4 separate regions of the Homo sapiens genome follow, and all the other regions are linked to region 4. Evidence: promoter capture Hi-C in 16 types of primary human blood cells and fetal thymus (Javierre and others, 2016). All regions are on one chromosome and are shown on one strand. Each heading gives the region's core, a stretch centred on a gene start or on the middle of the fragment in contact. The rest is flanking DNA. Distances are from core to core; before and after follow the strand shown.

What was found. Contacts are between HindIII fragments. The CHiCAGO score rates a contact against its expected background, and 5 or more counts as called.
Region 1: a contact is called between a fragment that was not itself captured here and the fragment with the promoter of ARRDC3 in region 4, in 1 of 17 cell types (total CD4 T cells). The highest score is 6.3, in total CD4 T cells.
Region 2: a contact is called between a fragment that was not itself captured here and the fragment with the promoter of ARRDC3 in region 4, in 2 of 17 cell types (naive B cells and non-activated CD4 T cells). The highest score is 8.8, in naive B cells.
Region 3: a contact is called between a fragment that was not itself captured here and the fragment with the promoter of ARRDC3 in region 4, in 1 of 17 cell types (fetal thymus). The highest score is 6.4, in fetal thymus.

The regions. Positions count from the first base shown.
Region 1 is chr5:73,563,215-73,569,577 of GRCh38, forward strand. UTP15 (UTP15 small subunit processome component) reads left to right here and starts at 2,529. Exons shown (of 13, transcript NM_032175.4): 1 at 2,529-2,698; 2 at 4,048-4,220; 3 at 5,021-5,113; 4 at 5,206-5,390; 5 at 6,283-6,363. The coding sequence starts at 4,131. It overlaps ANKRA2 (ankyrin repeat family A member 2), which reads right to left and starts at 2,425. Exons shown (of 9, transcript NM_023039.5): 1 at 1,918-2,425. RefSeq lists enhancers at 1,685-2,239, 1,819-1,868, 1,889-2,098, 2,109-2,668, 2,240-2,794. The HindIII fragment of the contact is 442 bases long and covers 3,569-4,010 here.
Region 2 is chr5:79,231,028-79,236,842 of GRCh38, forward strand. JMY (junction mediating and regulatory protein, p53 cofactor) reads left to right here and starts at 5,104. Exons shown (of 11, transcript NM_152405.5): 1 at 5,104-5,815. The coding sequence starts at 5,624. It overlaps LOC124901011 (a long non-coding RNA gene), which reads right to left and starts at 4,996. Exons shown (of 2, transcript XR_007058836.1): 1 at 4,784-4,996. RefSeq lists silencers at 5,006-5,055, 5,096-5,145, 5,176-5,615, 5,786-5,815 and an enhancer at 5,558-5,815. The HindIII fragment of the contact is 528 bases long and covers 4,059-4,586 here.
Region 3 is chr5:103,257,934-103,264,504 of GRCh38, forward strand. It overlaps MACIR (macrophage immunometabolism regulator), which reads left to right and starts at 830. Exons shown (of 3, transcript NM_033211.4): 1 at 830-963. RefSeq lists silencers at 491-1,000, 1,211-1,590. The HindIII fragment of the contact is 662 bases long and covers 1,792-2,453 here.
Region 4 is chr5:91,379,721-91,385,681 of GRCh38, forward strand. ARRDC3 (arrestin domain containing 3) reads right to left here and starts at 3,597. Exons shown (of 8, transcript NM_020801.4): 1 at 3,093-3,597. The coding sequence starts at 3,372. ARRDC3-AS1 (ARRDC3 antisense RNA 1) reads left to right here and starts at 627. Exons shown (of 3, transcript NR_027435.1): 1 at 627-1,204. RefSeq lists silencers at 489-668, 1,289-1,358, 3,504-3,813 and enhancers at 3,667-4,184, 4,064-4,363. The HindIII fragment of the contact is 1,076 bases long and covers 3,336-4,411 here.

The DNA of each region.
Region 1 (6,363 bases), core at 2,540-5,039, about 18 Mb before region 4:
TATAAAATAGGGATATCACCATTAACCTTATAGGGTTCTGGTAAAGACCAAATGAAATACTGTACAGTGATATTCTCACCTCCATCATTAAATTCCAATACATTTTAGTTACTGTTTCTCCCATTTCCTATATCTGAATATCACCAAATGGATAAAAGATCAGGCTAACAATGAAAATAAACTTTAATCTCTTACCTAAGGTTAGTTCTTTAATATGCTATGTTTATATAGGTGGCCCTTAGTTTGAATTTAAGAAATGATAATTCATGTTGTATCCAAGTTTATTGGCATTGTCATCTATAACACCTGTGATTCCTAGACCATGAAAGGCTTTACAAAGCTTTGGTTTTGATGAACTGAAGGTACATTTATGAATTTTTGTTCCGATTAAGCATTAGCAACTTAATGTAGGTTTTCATGAAAAATAAAGTAGGTAGATTATGGATTGGCTTTCCAAGATGTATAGTTGTCTTAGATACATTATCATTTGGGACAGAAAGGAAATTAATAACATCCAGTTAATTTTTTCATGTTAGGGTTAATTGCCTCTTAGGAATTTTGAGAGGGTGCAGGGTGTTTCAAAATTGGAATTGGAATTAAAAGAAAAATGCATTAGGATCGCAGTGGAGCAAGGGTCGCGAAACCATACATTTACAGATAACCACCTTCTACAATTTTAAAAACATTTTCAAAGATTAGTCTTTATAACAATCCTTTGAGTAGGCAGGTCAGGTAATCATATGTCCACCTAGGAGGGGTAAAAAAGGAAGCTCATGAATTATGAGGGCTTACTCAGCTCTTCTGACTCCATCACTCTGACCATTAAAATGAGGCAGCCCTAAACAAAGCCAAAATCTCCACGAGAGAGTTGAATAAATAACACATAGTATAGTAAGGAAAAAAAAAAAAAGCAGGAAGTAAGAAGGTTAATACATTTGGGCAAAAAGAAGGAAACCAGAAAAGAAAATTAGTTCAGTGATTCAAAGGGAGATGGATGTGCAATGCATTAGTCCATGCGTCTTAAAAGGGACTGGACAATGTGAACTGTGTTTCCTGAGGGAAGAACCATCTCCCCCTTTCTCCTATCCAGCGGTTGGCTAAGTGCAACTCCCCTAAGCTCTCTGAGCACCCTGCATGTATCTGTATTTTAGCATTCACCATCCTTTTGACAATTTCCATTTAAATAACAGCTAAATTGAAAACTCCCCTAGGATGGGGACCACTCTTACTAATTTTTGCACACAGAACAGTACTTGGTCCTACCAGGTGCTCCATAAATGTTTTCTGATCTTAACTTTAACAATTTTTTCCATATTCTTTTCTATTTCTAACATTTGCTGATTAGACCTGGCTTTCCACTCCCAACATCGCTACTAACTAGCTGGCCACTCCTGGACAAATAAATAATACAAGTTTTCTGAAATTCATCTATTATAAAAAGGTGTTGAAATAGGCCTTTCTAATATTCTTTCCAGCTCTAAACAGCTTCCATGTTACAAATCAGGGTTTATAGATGGAATTACAGGTCTTCGAGAGGAGAATAGCAAATGTGCTTAGGCGAAGGGGGTGGGTGGAAAATGAACGCTTATCTTGGCACAGCAGTTTAACGAGAGGAGAAGCAAAGTTGATTGGTAGGCCAAAATTTTGAAGAACAGGAGAGGGAGGCGGGGGTGAGGGGAGTGGGGTAACAGGACTTAGAAGAGGTGGTGGTGAGAAAAAGGGGGTAAGGCAATCGATAGCTAGGTTCACCTCGATCTGTCAGAGCCCAGGGATGAAGGGATAGAGAGTCTACGGAGATAAAGTGGGCAGCTATGCTAGTTCCTGTGGATGCTAATAACAGGAGCCCCTCGTTTCTTCCTGATCCTGGAATTATTCTACAAGGAGAGGAAGGTGCTATGAAAATAAATGATGCCTCACAGGCGACAGGTGTCCCAGCGTCCCGAGACAGGAGCCCGCTGTCTCCCGCTGGAGGGGAGACTCTTGCAGGAAAGAAAGTCCGTTCTGTCGCCACCGGCCAGCTGTGCCCGAAAAGTCCCAGGAAGAAACTCTCGCTCATCCGCGGCGAGCGGATCCCGGGCACAGGGGCTGGAGGCCGACCCGGTGAGAGTGCAAGGTCTCGCGACCACCGACGACAGCAGACAGCGAGTCGGGCCTTCCCATCTGAGGCCAGCTTCAGTACAGGCCTCCAAGCCCGGGCTTGTTTTGGCCGCGACGTCACTTCCGATTTCTTCTTTCGCCTTCTGGCTAAAAAACGTTCCGCAGCAATGCAGCTGAAACTTTCGGGTTTTCTTTTTTTTGTCCCTCTCTCCTTTTTTTTAATATTTTTGTTTTTGCCGCCTTTACGCTCCGAGGCCCATCCTGCCGGAGTACTACACAGACAGGGTCATTTCAGTTGACGGTTCTGGGTCACCAGAGCAGAGGAAGCCCCAATTTCGCCCTCCGGTCACACCTCCTACTCCAGATCGCCCCGCCCACCTGACCCGCCTCTGCGCCGCCGGGCTGCGTGAGTCTCATGAGCGTGCTCTGGTACGTCATCTTCGCGCGACGTTCGGTTCGCTGTGTGTGTCGCCGGCTCCTTGAGGGTCCATGTGATTTTTACGCCAGTGCTGCTGAACTGTGCAGGGTAGGGAGCTGGCACAGTCCGATTAATTGTCCTTGGGTCGAGGTGTCTCGTCGGACCCTTTGGGGCTCAGTGGAGGTAGGTGAAGGCGGCTCCCATTGAGGGAAGCCCACACTCACACCCGGCCTTCCTGTGTTAATCTGGCATGCTCTTCTGGGGCTTCCCAGGCTATATAGGAGAGTGGCCAAATTCTTTAACCGGCTCAAGTTCCCCTCAATTAAGCTTCGACCTAGGTTCTTCTCTGCGATTACACCCTTTCCTGTCCACCGTTGTTAGTTCCCGGAGTAATCAGCAACTCTCCAAGGCAATGGACACATTTCCATCTTTGCCTTTGCTTACGAGGCTCCCTCAGGTGAAGTGAACCTAATGGAGTTTTAAAATATTTGGGAGATAAAATCAGCAGATCTTGTTAACTATTTGGATGTTAGGAGTGAGGAAGAAAAGGACACGTCAAGGCTGAGTCTAGGTTAATATCTGGTGCCAGTCACCAGCCAAAATGGAGTATATTGGAGTAAGCAAAGGCACAGACCATGTCTTTATTTCATTCACCATTATAGCCCCAGTGCCTAGAGCAGTGTCCTGCACATTGGTAGGTACTTTAATGAACAGAAGAGTGTTCCCAAAGACCAGTGAAATACAATCATTGGTCATTGTATTTCATTAAAGCACCTTTTAAATATATGTTACACCTATTTATCGTGGTGTTACTAATGTAAAGTTTTCAGGCTTTTTGGAATAGATGATGAGCAGCACCTCTGGAATCATTTACCTGATAACATTGAATCTCTTTTGCAATTGAGTCGTTCTGGAAAAATGTTTTGGCTTGATTGCATGTTATTTAAAAGTTTTATCCTATTCTGCCACTTTAGTGTTGAATTTAATTTCAGGACTGCTTTATTACAGTTTTCTTTCCTACTGTTTAAACCTTTTAAAGTAAATTTAATTTTAAGCTTCTACATTAGAATATTAGCTTTGTGTTTCTTACTTCTTGGCATTTTTAGGCTTTCAGGAAATCAAATCCGTAACTATAATTGTTATAGATTAAATGTCATCTTAAACTTGGTTTCAGGAAACTTGTATTTGCAGTTTCACCTTAATATTTCCTGTTGCCAAAAAATGGACACTCAAAGCCAGCATGATCCTTTTTGGTTTGGCTACTGTAAGGCTGTGCTAGATTTATTCCTAAGTGTTGTAAAATGGTTGGCTAGGTGTGAGAACCTTTGTGTACAGCTGAATAGATGGTGCGATATGATAGCCTTCACTTTAATTATTCCTGCTTCCTATAGATTGCCTTTTCTGGGTTAGAATTAAATGGCTTATTGGTCTCTAATCTATATACTTCCACACAGACTTTTTAAAGAAAGCAGAGTGAAAATCAACTATGTGTACAAGCTTATAATATGTATATAAAATATTTTATTTTTCAGAATTAAGGCAGAGTCACTGTAATTATTTCTAATACCAATTCCAAAATAGTGACTCTTGGACAATAGTGCAATTATATGGAATTATGGCTGGTTATAAGCCTGTAGCTATTCAGACATATCCTATACTTGGTGAAAAAATCACCCAAGATACACTGTACTGGAACAACTATAAGGTGAGTGTGGGACGTAATGAGGGAGAAGGGATTTGTGTTTATGCCAATTTCTCTAGCATATGTTATACTCTGGATGCTCTAACAGAGAATTATTAACTGAAAACCATCTATCAGCAGCTTATAGTTTGGGCAGATAATTTGATATCTATTTTTTCTTGGAATTTTATGTAAAAGTCCATACTGCTTAATCAGATTAACCATACAAATGCCTAGCACAGAACAGATGATCAATCAATGCCAAATGAATTAAATTTTAAAATTTGAATCTCATATGTGTAAAGATGTTTATTGAAGTATTGCTTGTAATAGTAGAAATCTTGAAAAACCCATGTCTATTAGTAGTGGACTGGTATAGTAAATTACAGTGTGCCCTTATAATGGATGGTAAGTCTATTGCTCCTATGAAAGCTAATATGTGTTACTAAGTGAAAAGAAGCAAGATGTGGAACAGCCTACATGGTATGATTATCTTTTTGTTATTTTAAAAGTACAAGTACGTGGTTATTGTATGCTGGTGTAGACATGATAACTTTTTTTTTCTGGTAGAAATCACAGTAAACTCAATAGCTGAAGAGACAGAGTGGGGTGTGGCTTTCTAACCATATGTTTATTTCAGTGGCAACAAGAATAGTCTGGGTGATGAGATATGTACCTTTTTTGCTTTCTTTGTAATTTTATGTTAAATACAACTTAAGAAATGTTACTAAGAACAAAGAGAAACGGTCTGTAAGAAATTATGTAATGCATAAATAGGTCTTACCAGTGGTAACTCTGTTAACACACTATTATTTTTTATTAAGACCCCTGTTCAGATTAAGGAATTTGGTGCAGTTTCAAAAGTAGACTTTTCTCCTCAGCCTCCATATAATTATGCTGTCACAGCTTCCTCAAGAGTAAGTATAATATTAAATTTCTTTATTTTTCTTTTGTATAGTTTACTACTGATCTTGAGCCATCTGGTGAAATACTGTTTTTCATCTTGTAGATTCACATTTATGGCCGATACTCCCAAGAACCTATAAAAACCTTTTCTCGATTTAAAGACACAGCATACTGTGCTACTTTTCGACAAGATGGTAGATTGCTTGTGGCTGGCAGTGAAGATGGTGGAGTTCAACTTTTTGATATAAGTGGGAGGGCTCCCCTCAGGCAGTTTGAAGGCCATACAAAGTAAGAGACAGTTGGTTTCTGTGTGTTCTGGTTTTATTTTGTTGTAAGCTCTTTTTTTCTCTGGACTTTGGTTAAAAAGATAGAGATCAGTTTTATGGAGATTATTTGCCTATAGGTACTATATTTCCTGATTGTTCTAAGAGTGCTTAACTTGGGTTCCGTGGTCCAGTTTCATGGGGCTTATGAATTCCCTAGAATTGTATGTGATATTTTAGGAAATACACGTTTATCTAGGGAGCTACTCTGTAGCTTTTGGTTAACTTTAGTGGGGTCTGTGGCCCAGCTGAGATTATGAATTACTGACCTGAAGACAACCTTACAGCTGGTAATGACAGCTCTATAGGCCTGTACTGTCTTAGAGGCTCTTATGTTGAAGTCAAGTAGGAAGGTGGATTTTCTTCTTGAATTTATAGTGTTTTGCCCCTTAATAAATTAAGTGGCCATCACAATTTTATATTATAACTTTGTTTTCAGGATTGCCAATGTCCGTGCTGAAATTTGTTAAAATTTAACAGAAATTTATGTAACATGATTCTATTTAGTGGTAAATCTCTTTAGAGTTTTTTAAAGAACTTTTTGAAATTTTAAAAATTAAAGTGCCTTTGCTTCCATATTCAGCAGCTAAGTGGAATTGTTTATATACTAGAAAATATAATTTTAAGGCTATCCTTTAATTTTTTTTAACTTTACAATATAGGAGTATTTACACTTCTTAATTGGTTTGGGGGCAAACACTTGTAAGTTTTCTCTTTCTTTCATGATTTCCCCCTATGAAGACTCCCTGAAACTCAGCTGCTTTTTTTTTAATCTGAGAAAAAGGAGCATTTTATGTTAGAAGGTATCAGAAAAATAATTTTCTTGCTTTTTAATATACTGACCTTCAATCTTTCAGAGCAGTTCATACAGTAGATTTTACAGCTGACAAATATCACGTGGTCTCTGGGGCTGATGATTATACAGTTAAATTATGGGA
Region 2 (5,815 bases), core at 3,073-5,572, about 12 Mb before region 4:
CCTACCAGAGCCCTAGAGGAGATGCTTCCCACGTGTTTTTATGAAGTGGATCCATGTGGCACACAAGGTAAACTGTGGCAGTTGTGAAGATGTGTCAGTTAGATCCCCCTTCTAGAAAGGAGCCACCCCTCAGCTGCAAGGAGTATGGTAAGTGGACACTCCCCACCTGTTAGTGTCTTCAGCATCAGCTTCAGGTTTTTATCCTGTGCTTTTCTCAGGGTGGTCCCCAGCCAATGACTGAGCAAGGCCTGGCTATATCTACCCAATGAGAGGAACTTCTTTTTTTTTTTTTTTTTTTTTGAGACAGAGTTTCGCTCTTGCTGCCCAGGCTGGAGTGCAATGGTGTGATCTTGGCTCACTGCAACCTCCTCCTCCTGGGTTCAAGTGATTCTCCTGCCTCAGCCTCTCAAGTAGCTGGGATTACAGGCATGCGCCACCACGCCTGGCTAATTTTGTATTTTTAGTAGAGATGGGTTTTCTCCATGTTGGTCAGGCTAGTCTTGAACTCCTGACCTCAGGTGATCCACTCGCCTTGGCCTCCCAAAGTGCTGGGATTAGAGGTATGAGCCACCGTGCCTGGCCATGAGGAACTTCTTTAAGGGAAATTTTTGCCTCAGAACTCCCTGTTGGATTAGCCTGCCTGATTCTGCCTCTGCCCCTTCCCCTTCTCTTCCACAGGGGTCGCCTCCATACTTTTTTTTTTTTCGTTTTGAGACAGAGTCTCACTCTGATGCCTAGGCTGGCGTGCAGTGACATGATCTCGACTCACTGCAACCTCCACCTTTCGGGTTCAAGCGATTCTCGTGCCTCAGCCTCCCAAGTAGCAGGGACTACAGGCTTGTGCCACCACGCCCGGCTAATTTTTATATTTTTAGTAGAGACGGGGTTTCACCATATTGGCCAGGCTGGTCTCATACTCCTGACCTCAAGTGACCGCCCACCTTAGCCTCCCAAAGTGCTGGGATTGCAGGCATGAGCCACCGCACCCGGCACCCCATAAATTTTTTGCGTTCCTACTTCTCAGTGTCTGCTTCCGGGAGAATCTAACTGAGACACCAGTGGATTTGCAAATGGACCCCGGAACTGAAGTTGCTCCCTGCTCCCAACCCTGGGATGTGTAACCTAACTAATCTGAACTGCTGTTTTCTCCTATATAAATTAAAGATGCTTATTCCTTTCATACCTACATTTCATGGTTATTATGAGGTGAGAAAATGCTATATAATTTGAAAATCACTATGTAAACTATTATAGTTTTTATGAAAAGTTCTAAAGAGTTAAAGCATTTCCTGAATTACCTAAAGATGCACAATAGTTCTAAAAACTTCAAACAGATAATAGTTTTAAGCCCTTTGAAGGCTGGTATGGTGTATGTGGGGTTTTTCTGTAGCTTTGCTTATTCCCAGGGAGTAACTTATACACTGAGAGATCTTGCTTGGCAATCAGATACAGACCTAAACAAAGAATTGTAGAGTACTATAGTAACCTATCATGGGAATTTTGGTTTGTTTCTCTTCATTTCTAGGATAACAGTTACTAACATAGCACGAACAAGAAACACTGAAACATCTCATTTGACAAAACACAGTGGCCAGTGTATTGAGAGGAAATACTTAACACCTGTGTAACTGTGAACCAATTTTGTGTATCACTATTCTGATAAGATAAAATTTTCTATCCATGAATAAATATAATTTCATGTTATTTTACTCTTAACACCACTTGACGAAATATTATAATTTTAATATACGTGCACATAAAATATTTCTTATAACATTCTTTATTTCCATTTATTTATTTATTTTTGAGACGAAGTCTTGCTCTGTTGCCCAGGCTGGAGTGAAGTGGCGCAATCTCGGTTCACTGCCACTTCTGCCTCCCAGGTTCAAGTGATTCTCCTGCCTCAGCCTCCCGATTACAGCCTGGGATTACAGGTGCCCACCACCACGCTTGGCTAATTTTTGTATTTTTAGCAGAGATGGGGTTTCACCATGTTGGCCAGGCTGGTCTCGAATTGCTGACCTTTAGTGATTCACCCACCTCGGCCTCCCAAAGTGCTGGGATTACAGACATGAGCCACCACACCTGGTCTATTTATTTATTTTGAGACAGAGTCCCACTCTGTTGCCCAGGCTGGACTGCAGTGGTGCGATCATGGCTCACTGCAGCCTTGACCTCCTGAGCTCAAGCAGTTCTCCCACCTCAGCCTCCCAAGTAGCTGGGACCACAGGTGCATACCACCATGGCCAGCTATTTATTTTATTTTATTTTTTATTTTTATTTTTTTGAGACGGAGTTTTGCTCATTGCCCAGGCTGGAGTGCAATCGAGCAATCTCTGCTCACCGCAACCTCCGCCTCCCGGGTTCAAGAGATTCTCCTGCCTCAGTCTCCCAAGTAGCTGGGATTACAGGCATGTACCACCACACCTGGTGAATTTTGTATTGTTAGTAGAGATGGGGTTTCTCCATGTTGGTCAGGCTGGTCTCGAACTCCCGACCTCAGGTGATTCACCCGCCTCAGCCTCCCAAAGTGCTGGGATTACAGGCTGGAGCCACCGCGCCCGGTCTATTTTATTTTTTTGTAGAGGCAGGGTCTCCCCATGTTGCCCAGGCTGCTCTTAAACTCTTGGGCTCAAGCAATTCTTCCAAAGCATTTGGATTACAGGCATGAGTCACTGTGTCCAGCCATCCAGCCAAAATATTATTATTTTTTATTTTTTTCAGACGGAGTTTCGCTCTTGTTGCCCAGGCACTGGAGTGCAATGGCACGATCTCAGCTCACTGCAACCTCTGCCTCCCGGGTTCAAACGATTCTCCTGCCTCAGCCTCCCGAGTAGCTGGGATTACAGGCACCTGCCACAACGCCCAGCTAATTTTTGGATTTTTGGTAGAGACGGGGTTTCACCATGTTAGCCAGGCTAGTCTCGAACTTCTGACTTTGCGATCTGCCCACCTTAGCCTCCCAAAGTGCTGGGATTACAGGCGTGAGCCACCGCACCCGGACTATTTTTTTAAATAATAATTTTTTTCTTTTTCTTGTCCTCTACTCTGAAGAGAACTTGTAAACAAATTCTTTTAATACTCATTCTCTGTATTCACAATTATACATAATGGGATCATGTCAGTAATGCTTTATCAGAAAAACTAGCTTTTTGCAGTTGCTTTTTAGCAAAAAAGAAGAGAAAGTTTTCTACAATGTGCTATTGTTTGCTTAGCTGGTAATTCAAACCTTTTTTCTTTTTTCTTTTTTGAGGTGGAGTCTCTGTCCCCCAGGCTGGAGTGCGGTGGCATGATCTCAGATCACTGCAACCTTCGCCTCCCGGGTTCAAGCAATTCTCCTGCCTCAGCCTCCCAAGTAGCTGGGATTACAGGCACGTGCCACCACACCCGACTAATTTTGTATTTTTTATAGAGACGGGGTTTCACCATGTTGTCCAGGCTGGTCTTGAACTCCTGACCTCAAGTGATCTGCCCACCTCAGCCTCCCAAAGTGCTGGGATTACAGGCGTCAGCCACCATGCCCAGCCCCGTAATTCAGATTTGAAATGGGTTTTCTCTCTTTTTTGCCTTTCAGAACGTGTCTCTGACTTGCATTTGAGATTTGACACAAACTCAGTTACAAACTTTGAAAATTTGTGGTTTCAAATAATGAACTGTACAAAATGTTAAAAACCAGCTGGGCTCAGTGGCTCACGACTGTAATCCCAGCACTTTGAGAGGCCAAGGCGGTCGGATCACCTGAGGCCAGAAGTTCGAGACCAGCTTGGCCAACATGAAGAAACCCCGTCTCTAATAAAAATACAAAAATTAGTCGGGCTTGGTGGTGTGTGCCTGTAATCCCAGCTACTTGGGAGGCTGAGGCAGGAGAATCGCTTGAACCCGGGAGGCAGAGGCTGCAGTAAGCTGACATCGTGCCACTGTGCTCCAGCCTGGGCCACAGAGTGAGACTCTGTCTCAAAAAAAAAATTTTTTTTGGCTGTTTATTCAAATATCAGGACAATACTGAACCAAGTGTTGAAGCTTAGAGTTTAAGATGGACAATACTGAACTAAGTTTGAAGCTTAGCTAGTTCAGTACTGTTCTGTCATCTGAATAAACAGCTGTTTTTACTGAACCTAACAATACAAGGCTAATCCAAACGGTTTTGTATATACTTTAGAAATGTGAATAAATGTAAAAGAACTAATTTCCATTGTGCTTTACTATGGTGCACAACATCTGTGACTTGAATACTAATCGGAAAAAGAATGCCAATAATTATTATAAAGTCTACTAATTTTAAGAATGTGTTTCATCATAGTTTAGTAAGAATAGCAGAGATTGATATGACTGTTTTTGTATATGCATTCTGGGAACTCCCATAATTGAATACAACTTCAAAAGGGCTAAAGCCCAGTGACCTCAAAACGAGGTTCACAGAACAGTACATAATGATGAAACCTGAAGCAATAAAACACCAATGAACTGAAATGTAAACATTCATGCTGTTAGGACATGGCATTTTCATTTTTCATTTTGTTTTGGACTGTTACTGGGCTTTCCTCAGACACCTTCCTTTCATATATTAAACTCTGTCTTTCCAGAAAAGCTTCTGGAATTGTTTTTGTTTTTTGTTTTGGTCTCAAGGGCATTAGGGGAGAACCTAACAGGCTGGGGGCGAGCCCCACATAGTTCAGCACACCGTTCCCCGCGGCAACACGCTACTTCTGAACGCAGGAGCGACTCTCCGTCCGGGCTCCCTCCAGGAGAATGGAGGCAAATGTACATTCGAGGGTCTCAATACCTGGAATTCGAAACGTCTCAGTTCCTCCGCCTTAGTTCCTCTTTTCCCGGGTTCGGAGGCCACCTGTGCAGCAGGGCACACCTGCCACTCTCATCGCCCTCGGAGCCGGCAACCAGCCGACAGCCGGCTCCAGCCCCGGGGAACTGGAGGCTGCGCGGAAGGAAGGAGAGTCGGGAGCGCGGCCGCTCGCGGGCTGGCTCAGGGGACGCCGAGAGGAGGCGCCGGCGCGCGCGGGCGGGGTGCGCGCGCCGCCGCCGCCGCGTCACCAGCGTGCGGCACGTGCCCATGTTTACGTCCCTCGTGGAGCCGCCGACGTCAGCAGTCGAATGGCAACATTGTGGCGATGCTGAGGCGCAGAGTTTAGGAGACGGGTTCATCAGTCAGGCCGGCTCCGGGCTTTCTGCAGCAGCACCAGGGGCGGGGGCGGGGATCTTGACCTGGGCGAGCGACCGGGACGCATACAGCGCCGGCCTGACCCCGCGGGACCCGCGCCTCACCACCGGAGCGCCGCAGACGCAGCTCCACGGCCTCGCGCGGGGGGCGGCGGGCGGCCGCGAGGCGCTGCGGCAGCGCGGAGCTTGTAAACAGATCCGGCCGCAGGTGACCATGTGAACTACCTGCTCCCGGGACGCTTATTGTCCTTCTCTCGATCCGCGCCACAAAGGAGCTCGGCGGTCGGGGCGCGGAGGGACAGGCGAACGAGCCGGGAGAGCCGGCCGGCGCACTAAGATGGCTGAAGGCGCCCGGCGAGGGTGAGCGGGGGGCGCGGCGCAGCCAGCGGGGAGTCCTCGGGCGGGCCGGGCCGGCGGCCCTTCCCCGCGGCGAGAAGCCGGAGCCACCATGTCGTTCGCGCTGGAGGAGACGCTCGAGTCGGACTGGGTGGCTGTGCGGCCCCATGTGTTCGACGAGCGCGAGAAACACAAATTCGTCTTTATTGTGGCCTGGAACGAGATTGAGGGCAAGTTTGCCATAACCTGCCACAACCGGACGGCCCAGAGGCAGAGGAGCGGCTCCCGGGAGCAAGCGGGGGCG
Region 3 (6,571 bases), core at 873-3,372, about 12 Mb after region 4:
CAATTTTGGGGTTCACCGACTGCGTACACATTCAGCCTTAGCCACTCAGTAGGCATATGACCTAAACTTTCTGCATTTTTAAAATGTGGATCATAATTGGTTACTTCCTCACAGAATGGTTATTGAGAGATGTAAATTTGGATATGCATGCCAGTAAATATTCTTATTGCTGAGCTTAACCAGTTCGGCAGAAATGTACATGAATTGAGAGAAGCAAATCTTCATCAAAGAAAATAATTTATTACAATAATAGACAAGATCAACATTTGTGCAAATTAAAAAATAGTTAATCCAATCAGAATCTGAATTTGAACTCCCCCCCCCGCCCCACCCCGCCACCTTCACTGGGTATTACGAGTTTTCGTAGACTGATCCTATAATTTTTAATTTCATGGCCTTCTAGTTTTCTGTACTTTTGCTTAGTGCTGAGCCCTTTAAGCAGAGACTCACAAGTGACAAATATCAGCACACCACTTAACTGAGGAAGCCGGAGTGTTCCCAGGTCCGCAAGTTGGAGCTCTTTAGTTGGAGTGCTGGGTTTAGACTAGAGAGCGGGTGTTGCGACTCCTCCTCCCCACCACCAGTCAACAACCCCGCCCACCCCCGCCAACTTCTTCTGGCCTCTTAGCGCCTTTCTGCAGCCAGCCGGCCCGCCCTTCCTCCGGGTGTCTGAGAGCTGGGCGCAGGAGGCGGGCTCAGCGCTGACGGGCTGCGCCTCTGCAGCCAGAGGGAGGAGGCGGGAAGGCGGGCGGAGGAGGAGGCGGAGGAGGAGGCGGAGGAGGGGGCGGGGACTAAGCAGGGCGGTAGCTGGCGCCGAGCGCGGTGGGAGAGGAGAGGGTACCCGGCTGGCTCGGCTGGCGGCCTCTGCCTGGATCTCGGCGCCGCAGTCCTGCGCCTCTCCCGCCCCTGTCTCCCGCTCCGCAGCCCCGGGCACGGCGGAGGCAGCGGAGCCCTGGGCCATCGGTAGGTTGCACGGGGACGACGGCTCCGTCTGTAACCTTTTGTGCTGCAGAAAAGGTGGTGGTTATGGGGGGCTTGGGGGAGTGGGTTTGCCCCAGGCTCCGATCCCCAGTGCCAGCCCTAATCGCGGCGCCGCCCCTTCCTCTCCGCCTCGTGTCTGGGCCGGGCGCACGATGCCCGCGGTGCTGGGGAAACCCGGCCGGACCAGCTTCTGCGATGGGCGGCGGGGCGGCCCCAGCGTCCCTTGGCCTTGGTGGACCGGTTCCCAGGCACCCGAAGGGGACTGGGGTCTGGTAAACTGGGTGGGGCCCGCGCGGGGTGCGGGGAGCTTGCGGTTCCCTGGCACAGGGGTGGGGCCGCAGACGCCGTGAGTGTGCAGCGCGTGTGAGTGTGCGGGGGCGTGCGCCCCCGTGTGCGCGCGTCGTGCGCTCGCTGGGGAGGTGCGGGGACTCGGCGACCCGGAGCGCCTCTCCCGCGGTGCCGCGGTGCGGAAGTCGGGGCGCGTTGGCGCGCACGCTCGCTCGCTCCCTCCCTTGGCCGCTGTTCCCGCACCGCGGGGCAGCGGGCCTGGAGGCCCCTTTGAGAAGTAGCTTTCCCCGGCCGGCGGCACCTTTGGCTGCGTGCCCGGCCGCGCTCAGGGTGCGACTGCCCGGGTCAGATAGCACCTCAGGGCGAGCCCCGGCGGTCTGATCTCGCCGACCCTCCTCGTCCTGGTTGCAACCCGCGTGCGAGGCCGCCCGCGCCCTCCGAGTGTCTGCCGGTGCAGTGGGGGTGGACTGGCCGGCTGTGGCCGTGTGTGCGCGTGTGGATTGGGGCCCGGTCCGAGCCAGAAGCTTAAGCGGCAGATGTCGGGCATTGCCACCCTCGCCCCACCTGTCGCGGGTGGACTTTGGGGCAGGTGGGAAGCGGAGGAGAGGGGTTTCGAGGCGGGTGGCAGTCAGACCTCCAGCAACGCGGCCCCATTGTGAAGCTGCCAAACTCTCTCTAGTGGTGGAATCTGCAGGTCTCCGCCAGAAAGGAGATGGGAACGCGAAGGGAATGATGGCCCCGTCCTTTTCCCCTTGCTAGTGTTCCACACGCTTAGGGACTCCCTGCCTCTCCTTCCACCTCAGTTTTCAACCCAGTGGGTTACTGATTTGGGTGGAACCAAGATTTCCGTGTGTGTGTGTGTGTGTGTGTGTGTTTGTGTGTGTGTGGTGCACAGGTAAAGCTGGAGCTGGGAACTTTTTATTTGAGCAGGAAGAATGGAGGCATTTTACAGTGTGCTTGCCGCTCCTAGCTGAAAGAACAATTCTTGCATATTTCTGATGTTACTAGACTCATTTTCCTTTTTTTTTTTTTTCCGAAGAGCCAACCTACAATTTAGGGTTGTTAGTTGTTTTATTTTCTCAAATCCTGTAATGCTGGATTGACACTATAGAGGTAGAAATGACCCTTTTGCAAAGTTTATTTTCCCAGTCATTTCAAAATATAGTATTGGTTATTACGGCAGAAGCTTTTGGCCGCGATTTATGATTACACTATTAAGTTTAATGAATGTGTCACAGAATCCTCAGTGTTTTAATTATGTAACTGTGAATGCATTATAAACTGAAAAGTAAAATGAACAGGATGGAATATAAGAGTTAATGAATACAGAGACCTGTTAATTTGATAATAATTGATGTATAGAATATGCTTTTGCTAACAGTTTATTTAATTGCAAATGAAAGTGTTAGTAATTATTTCAGTGTATAAGATATATTTATTGATATTATATAACAGTCAATGAATTTGCTTATTTTCTTTGTATATTTCTGTGTATTTTAGAGAGCTATTATAAAATTAACTCAAAAGTACTTAATATGGTTAGAGTAATAAAGCTTTATGTACAGGGTTTAAAATTTCTTTGCTGATTTGTAGCTGGGGGTGAGGTGGGGGATCAGCTCCTTTCCTCCAGAGAGAACTTTGATTTTGTCACCAGCCTATCAAAATGAGTACCTGGTTTTAAGCCTTCCCAAAGATTAGCCAATTCCACAGTGTACACCTGTTCCATTTTGATGATACTTCCTAAGAGACAAATTTCTTGTAAAGGCTGCATGTTGACCTTTAGTTCCACTTACTGTCGGTCATATTTGCAGTGAAACTGAGTATTTTTCTAAAAGTAGAAGGATGACACCACGTGATAAGAAGATATTAGTAACCTAGGTTTAATTTTTACTAGCAGAAATGGAAAGATAATGAGTGCTGCACTTTAAGGGGGTGGATTGCTATTAAAAGAACTGATACTAGAAAGAGAAACACATTTTTGTCTTACTGAACGAATTATGGGTTATCTTACAAAGTTGGCAAGGTTAATGGTTTGTTTGTAAGGTCAAGGATGGTTTCAGAAAAGTCACACCCTAGTTAACTCTTCTTAAAGAGTATTGATGACTTACTTTTTGCAAGTTGCAAATGGTAAAGTAAGAATATTTGAAAGAAGCCTCTAAGATGAGCATCTAGGTGCAGCTAAACATTTTGTTTTCATTGTTGTGTTGTACTTTGACAGTTAAGCCATTTTATTTCTGCTTAGTGTTCAGTTAGTATTCCTCCAGAGATGTTTTGGTTCATCTTTTACTTGTTTTTAGTGGTCTTTGAGATTAGTGGTTACAAAATATTTTCACTATTTTGAAAGAATTTTTAAAAATTGATGTTTTTTTTCCAAGTGCTTTTCCATTAGTGGTCTCTTCTTAAATAGCCACTCTGAAAATACTACCTGTTTTTCTTTTTCTTTCTTTCTTTCTTTCTTTCTTTCTTTCTTTCTTTCTTTCTTTCTTTCTTTCTTTCTTTCTTCCTTTCTTTCTTTCTTTCTTTCTTTTCTTTCTTGAAAATGTTTTGGTGGGCTTCAGGTTAGGGCCATGAAAAAAATGAAAATAAATGTTTTGATAGCTAGAATTAGAACTCACAGCTTCTACTGTACCAATTTCTCTGCCTAAAATTTGTCCTTTCATAATATAAACTTTAATGATGAATGTGATTTTTATTTACCAATATTTGAAAGGGCTATGTGCTGGTCCTCATATTTATAGTCTTATGATTTGTGATCAATGTTGTTAAATTTTTTCTTACTGCTGTTTTGTTAGTGATCTGTGCTGAAGCTTGAGATTCACGACTTTTTTGTGTGTTTACGAATTTTGTATGGACATAAACATTTCCAAATGGAGCTTTGTATATTTTTGGGAAAGGCACTCCCTTTTTTGGGTTCCTAGTGCCATTCAGGTTTACTGTTATTAGAAGGATTTATTTCCATGTCTGCCCTCCCCTCTGACCCAGTCTCAGGCCATCTCTTTATATGTGCACCAGTGCCTGCATAGTGTGGGGATATATAATAAGACTTAAGAAACATTGTTGAATGACTGAATAAGTGAATATCTAAGTGGGTACACCCGAAGAAAGAACTCAGACCTGTATGGGAATTCACCGTTCAAGCAGAAGGGTGTTTCCCTTTTTAAAAAAGTCATTGCCTTTCCATGTTGCTTTTGAGTAGGATAACAAATGAAACAGCCAAACTGAGACACTTTTGAGAGTTAAAGGGGGTTGCTTTCAATAATTATGCCAGGGTATTGACTATGAATTGAGATATATAGTCACTCTTCTTTTGAAAGGCATTCTTATTTACCTGTGATAATAACTATCACCTGAGAAATTCGATACATTTGGTAGTTAATGTTTGCAAACTTTTCTATTTGTAGAAGCTCCACTTGCAGTGAAATGTTGGGTGTCTTTTGCTTAGTCACCCATGACTTTCTTATCCAGAAGTCTGTGGGCAGCTCTTGGCCACTGCTTGGTTTTTTCCTATTTTTATTGCTTATGGGATAATGTCCCACTGCATTCTGTTTCAGCTTCTTATAACTGGAAGCATTTATTATATCTTGTAGCCTTTGCTCTATTTACTTCAGTCTTTGTTTTTATGCAGCATTTAGTCTATCTTCTAAGAATTTCACATGGATTCCTTTTCCTCTTGCTGACTGTTTTGGAGAGGAAATCTGTTGATATCTTTCCAAGCCTTCAGTGTTTAGAACATTGGCCAAAATCAGTTGCAAGCGTTAGAGAATTATAGATTTTTAAAGTATTCTAAAAATGTGTGTTATTTGAAAGGTACATGTTTTGGGAATTTTTATATTACAATCTTTTAATTGTTATAAGTGGGAGATGGGGGTAGAACCCTTACTGTAATTTTGTAGTAGATTTCTTTATGGGTTATGTCTTAAAGAAAACGTATAATCTTATACTAGTTAGTTTCTGGTCTTGTTCTTTTTATTTATTTTTCCCTCTTTTTCACCATATACCTCCTCCTCCTCCTCCTCCTCCTCCTGCTCTTCCTCCTCCTCCTCCTGCTCTTCCTCCTCCTCCCACAAAGCAGGAAGCAGAGTCAAAATTAGAAAAAGTGAGAATGTAATGGAGCTTCTGCACCTTGGTTTTCTTGTGTTGCTCCCTTGGACATTGTGTTTATATTCTATTTTTGGCTTGGCACTGGCATAATAGGAATAATCAGTTACTACTCTTTGTTTACTATGAAATTACCGATCATTTCCTAGATTTACACATCAGCTCCAGTGCAAGAGTTGGGTAATGTCTTCAAGGCTCCTCTGCTTTCAAATCCAGACTAAAGTTTTAGTTGATTTCTTTCTTTTGATGTTGAAAAAGAAACTCTTTGAAAGTGTAAATATTTTTCTAATGCATTTAAAAGCTTAAAAAGAAGAATATGTCACCAAATACATGAGGCAAATTATATGAAAGTTTGAATGAGATTTAAGACTGTCAAAACTATTCTTTAGGATTAAGACATTCAGATATTTCTAATGTTCCTCCTGCTTGTTTTAAATTGACATTTATAAAAGTATAAATGAAATCTATCCCACTTTGTGATAGATGTAGTCTTGAGAAATAAAGCGGAAATATATAACTGTATTTGATATCCAACCATATAACCAGACGGTATTGGTTGATACCTTTTTTTCTGTCGCATAATTTATGATTTTAGAAAATAGAAGCTCATAGGAGAAAGAGTCCATGATTCAGAAGGATTTTGTATAAGACTTTCCACGATGTGCCACCAAATCTTAATATTTTTCAAGTTGGAAATAACCATGCAGCTAAGTAGTTCCCCCAACCATTTCACAAATGAGGCAATAAAGCTTTTAGATAAAGTGCCTACCCATACACTTAAAATAGATTTTCACTTATAGAAATTACTTGATATACATTTTGCGGGATCATGATTATTGTGTAAAAGGCTATACATGTTGTCTTATCATTGAACAGAGGCCAGAGTGTAAAGTAAATGATCTTTGGAGTCAGACCAATTGGGGTTCCAATTCCTGCTGTGACTCTCATGTAGTATCACTTAAAAGAGTACTTTAAAATAGGGCTACTACTAAAGAGTACTTTAAAAATGGGATAATAATATTTTCTTCATGGAGTAGTTAAGATTAAATGATATAAATTGTATATCACTTTTGACATAAGGAAGATGCTAAAGAAATGTTCGTTTTTAGAACTCCTCTTTCCCATTAAAAATCCATTAAATAAGAAATGCAGATGAATGTTATTAGTATTGGGGAAATTCTTTGGGATAATTATATTAAATAAA
Region 4 (5,961 bases), core at 2,347-4,846:
TTTTCTTGGTGTAGAAACCTTTACGATTAGCCCCCAGAGTAGAAAAAACTGGCACATTATTTAACTTTCCTTCAGCAAAGTATTGGATATACACAAAAAACGTGATGCCTCCCTGATATTAAACGAGAAAAAGGGGGAAAAAAGCATGTATACGTCGATACTTTCATTTAAAAATCATGGTGATTCGCTTATGTCTCCATACAATTTTCCTCGTCCCCTGTGCAAATTCCCCTGAACGGATTTCAGAACCAAAAACTAGCTGATGAGCTGGGGGCCATTTAAATTCGCTCCCCTCGAAGGCGCCCGAAGTTCGCCTTCCTTTCCCTTTCTTCCCTCTTCGCTCCCTTTTTGTGCCAGCTCAGCAGTCTCATTGAAGCGAGCGGCGGCGGCCGCGCCGTGGTAAACAAGTGCCGGGCTGTCAATCAAGAACTAGACCGGAGCAGGAGAGGACCGGCCTAAACCGGCGCGAGCAGATCCCAGCCGGCCTGCCCGCGCGCCGCCGCCGCCGCCGCTGCCGCCCGCGCGCCCCGCTATACATACGGCATACGTCGCGCGGCGCTCGCGCCCGTGCCCGCGCAACCTAGCCTGCTGGCCGGGGGGCGGGGCGAGCGAGCCGCGGCGCTTCCGCTTTACACGCCCCAGCCGGCGACCGGTTCCATCTGGCTCGGGCCACTCTGACACCTTTAGTTTCGGCAAGGGATATTGGGGTGGCGAAGGGGAGGCGGGGGCCCGAAGGCTTCGGAAAACGATGGGGGAGGGGGCAGAGGATACCCGTCGAAGCCCCCCCCTCCCCCAACATTTCGATATTGGAATCACTTTCCTTCTTCCTCGGGCCAGCCTTTGCTCTGTCCCCTCAGGTCAACTCAAGGTAGACAGTGTGGCGACTGGAGAGGTCGGGGAACAAGCTTTGTTTCAGCTAAGGGGAAAACAAGCGTTCACAGGAGTCCCCTGACACCTCCCACTCGGAAGATAGCTAACGGGGGTCCTGCCAACCCTTCCCATCCAACTTCCATCTGAAAAGGATTTTCTGCTAAAGTTGGGTCCATGGCCATCCAGCACCTGTAAGGCCGGCAGGAGCGTCTGCCCTCTACTCAGTTAAAGCCTGAAGTCGTTTCCTTTCGATGGCCCTTAGGAGGCCCAAAAGAGGGGCGACAGAACATGATGTTGACACGGGCTGGGCGCCCCCAGAAGCCCGGGAACAAACGTGAGTACGGGCTGGGTGGGGGTCGCTCTGGAGGAACCTTTACCGGCGCACGCCGGTTTCCTAGCCTCGCCCCAGCCGCGGCGCGAGCTCACTCTCCCCACCCGCCCGCGCCCAATCCAATCAGCGCCTGCCATCGCCTTAGCAACAGGCTAACAAACCTGGCTCCGCCTATCCCGGGCGCCCGGGGCGGGGTCTCAGTTACCAGGCTAGTTTGAGAGCTCCCAGTTTCAAGTCATTGAAACTATTCCAGACTGAGCTCGTCTACGCGTTGCAGGGTTTGGGGGGCATTTTGTTGGGGGTGCAGGGCATTTAGTTTTCTTTACCACGAAATCATGGTGCAACTAATGAAATTATATTTGTCCTCACATCTCGTTGTTCTACTTTTCCCCACTGCAAGTCTTAACCCCTTGAGGAAAAATCTGTTTTCTTTCATCCGTTTCATAAAAGGCTGCAATATTCAGAAAGGTACAAACACAAAGTCATCTATCTGCTTTTCAACAAATACCAAGGCTGTCATTAGGCATTTGCATCTCCTATCAGTGTTAACACTTGGAGAGATTAATTAGTTATTTCAGGATGCAAAGTACCTGTATCTAACTACGAAAATCCTGCTAAAGAACTGAGTTCACCTTAATAGTTTCAAAAATAATGCATTAATACTGTCCCTCAAAGCATCCTTCATTTCTCACTTGCCTTAGTCATCAGCACTTCTCCAGGATGTACGTTTTTAATATAAAAAATAAGGTAAAATATGTCTCTAATTTTTTTTCTGAAAAATCGCCAACATCTGAACTAAATACTGCATTAAAAAGGAGAGGCACAAAAATTACATAACCAGTTTTAACATTATATTCTTCTTGGGCTAGGAATTAAGTCATCGCCACCACCTGACGCGTGTAACCAATCTGCTGAGAGCAGAACAAGCGCCCCTCCTCACCACCCCCCAGAACTGGTCCGAAACAGGATTGAACCGCTTCTAACAAAGGGTGGAAACTTAGAAAAACAAGCCTAGAGTCTCCTATATTTCCACAATGTAACCATTTAAACAATAGATTGGAAATCTCAGGACTCCTTCTCCTTTTGACAACCCTTTATCTCTCTCTTCTAACCAAAAATCAAATCCAGTGTGCCCTATACTTTTCAATTCCATTTGACTGGCATGGGTTTCATTGAATGCACGTTCCAAAGTTAGACATGATGCTCGGAAAAGAAAATTACTGATCCTAAATGGCTTCTAAACCTGACTCGATACCTATCATAATGACAGATAGTCATTCCTTTAAAATAAGGAATGCTGGGTGTAAATTTTTAAAGGAATGGTAAAGAATAGAGAAAAAACACGTGGGGTGTTGATACCATATGTCAAAATAAGCCACAGAAATCTTTTATGAAAGAACAGTCATCAATTATTTAAAGTCTTTTGCATTCCAATATTAAAAATGAAACACACCCATTAAGTCTCTTAAAAATGTTATTACATTTCTTGATCGAAGTTCAGTTTTTACATCTTAGGTTGCAAGTAAAAGGGCAAAAATCTAAGACTGCAGCTTTTACCAATTCATTTGAAAATATATTAGTAAAACGACTGAATTGGATTCAAACAGAATTTATAAGTAAGGTGCAAATGGACTACAAGTGCGTGTGGCACAGACCGAGCCGGGTACAGAGGTAGCTGAATAAGTGTAGTTTGCAGTCACTTTGCAGATGCCTGCATGCATTACGGCTTAACACACGATGAACGTCAAGGAGAATCCAAACCTTCCAACTTTGCTAACCTTTCTCAAACTGCTTAGTTATGCTAGGAGTAGAATCACGTTAATTCAGAAAACTGAAAAGGTACGTTTCCAAAGAAAATGAGTCCAATGACTTATGAATAACAAAAACTTACCTCTTTCGTGCCCAATTAAGATGTCTTTATGGTTGAAATACTCTACTTCTTCAGTGTAATTCTGTGTATAGGCAGTATTGGAGCCGGCGTTTCTAGATTCAGTCCAGCGTACTTTCGCATGTCCTCTTGCATGAATTTTAAGAGATTTTACTCTGATTTCCCCAGTAACTTCTAAATTTACCCTTCCTGAGACGGTATCCCCACTAGAATACACAGGGACATTGCTGTCATTAAGACAGTCAAAGCTTATTGTCAAACTCTTCACCTTTCCCAGCACCATGTTTATAACAAAATCTATAAAAATATAATGTAAGACAAAAAAGTCAAGATCGCATATAAAATGTGATCTTCACTTAACACTGATCGATATTTTTGCCGTGCAAAATGCTTGCAGGCCGGATCAGTGATTCTCTACAAATAGTTCATTGAGATTTCTTAAAAAGTCAGGGCAGCAGAGGCTGCTGCTCCGCGCTCCCGCTCGTCTCAGTGGTCTCCTTACAAAGACGGGCGGCTAAAAGCTGCCAGCTCACTTTAAGAGCAGCTTTGTGAAAAACAACCCCAGTGCGCAGGCGCAGGCCGCGGCTGCTGTCCGCCCTCCCTGCGCGCCCCCTCCCGCGCCGCGCCGCGCCGCGCTCGCTCCCTTGCCCGCTCGCTCCCGGGTACAGTAGGTGTAGAGCTAGGGGAAGGAGATACTGGAGCTGCTGGCCGGCTGAACCTGACTTCTCTTCATTGTGGGCTCCTATTGGTAGGCAGGCTACCGTATACCCTCGACGTGCTATCTGGAGCCCGTTACCGAGCGCACTCTACTAGAAAGATAATGGCAGAGTGGGGTGCGAGGGTACAAGGGCTGGGTGGGGAGTTTGCAAAGCCAAGTTAGGATAAACTGCAGCGACCAGCCCGAAGCGTGCGTTACCGGCACTGCAGCGTTTTACCAACTGCCTGGATGGGAGGAGGAAAAAGTGATGTGTGAAGAGAGATGGGGGAAGGGAGAAACCGGTTGGGCAAGCGGCCGATTGTTGAGCATAATCTAACGAATTTCCAAAGAAAACGTAATAAAACCGGACAAGAAATATTGTTCATAGACAAGAGCATACTTTGCTTGGATTTTTTTTTTTTAAACCAGTACTTTGTAGGCAGGTTGGAAATGAACTCAGTCGAGGTCAAAGGAACCTTAATCCTTTGAAGAGCGAGGTAGAGAAGCAAGTACAATGTAATCAATAGGCTTTGCTGTCTCCTCAACTTCTTTCTCCTACATTGCTTAATTAGCACCGAAAAACAACCAAGTTGTTTCCAGGATGACACGGGTGGGGGCTGGGGGAAGCTTGATCACTTCCTCGAAGGAAGAAAAAGTCCTTTTAAGACACCACCTACGGCTAGATTTGCAGAGTAAGACATGATTACAACTCCTGTGTCCAGAGGAATAAGAATAGAGTTCGGCCTAAAAAAGTACTACCTTATAAAAGGCATATGACATAGTGGTTTAGCTGACATATTGTTTGCAACAGAATCGGAAAATCTTTGTTAGAAATTAGTGAAGCGCATAAAATTGTTTTTAAAAAGCATGATTTGGTATATAAATAGGGATTTAACTGTGTGAAGCTTTAATTTTCGGCCGAGAGCCTTGGACCATTTAACGTAGTAATTCTCATGATACATCTTAAATATAGGTACATTTCTCTTTTTATTGTGAATGTTTGGTAAAAAATAGCAGTGCTTTCGTCACATCACACTGGGATTCAGAGCATAACAGCATAAACTCATCTAGATTACTGGCAATCAACAGAACTGCCTTACAAGAGAAATGTAGAAAGAAAAAATATGAATCTGGTGCTCTCTCTATATATATATGTATGACCAAAAATACCTTGGAAGATTTTTGGCTGTCCGTGTCTAAACGTTTTAGATTCTTTTGCGTAGTGTATATGGATAGGTTGAGCCTATGAGTCACAATAAACTAAACTTATTGGTCTTGCTGTTTTATTTCAAAAGAAACTAAGCTTTTGGGGGTTGGATTTTAGTTGACAAGGCAATATCTTGGACTCAACAGCAATATATAAAGAGTATAAATATGCAAACTAGACAATTAATGAGCAGGCCATTTATTTCAGAGTTTAGATCGCTATGCATAAAATTATAAATTTGCATATTTAAGTGGGAAAAACAGTCTTATCTTTTCCCTACCTCTTGGTTGACACCTGGTGGAAATTCTAGGTAAAGTACCTGGGGCCTTGTACTAGCTTTGATTACAGATACTACTTGTGTTTTTTCTCCACCTAGTGGTAGAAGTGGTGAATTTCCTAGAATGACAGCTTTTCCTCAGCATAAGGTCAATGATATTTAATAAGCATTCGAAAACCACTGAGCAAGGAATGGATTTAAAAGTGTAGTCCATAATGAATACATAAATTCATTGCACATTTGTGTCTACATTTATGTTAAAAATTATTAAGGGTTAGTGAACAGCTGAATTCGGATTTTTTTAGTAAAATTTATTTAATTAGAATATAACTCATTTCAGAAAAAATAAGAATTAGCTATATAAATACACCAGAATTGCATTTAATAAAAAAGAAGTCTAAGAAATTTATTTGTAGTTTGGAAAATTGTTTTAAAATATTAAATGTTTCATTCCTGTCACTGTGTAGTACATTATTCTTTGTGTTTGAAGCTTTCAGGATCTTTTGAATAGTTGTCTTTATTATTTATTTTGCTATTTTTAAAATTTTCTTTTTACTGTGTCTTCTTAAATACTTAGGTAACTGGCAAATTTCCAAGAAATTCTTACCAGCTGCCATTTTCATTATATTTTTATTTTTTGAGATGGAGTCTCACTCTGTTGCCCAGGCTGGAGTGCAGTGGCACAATCTAG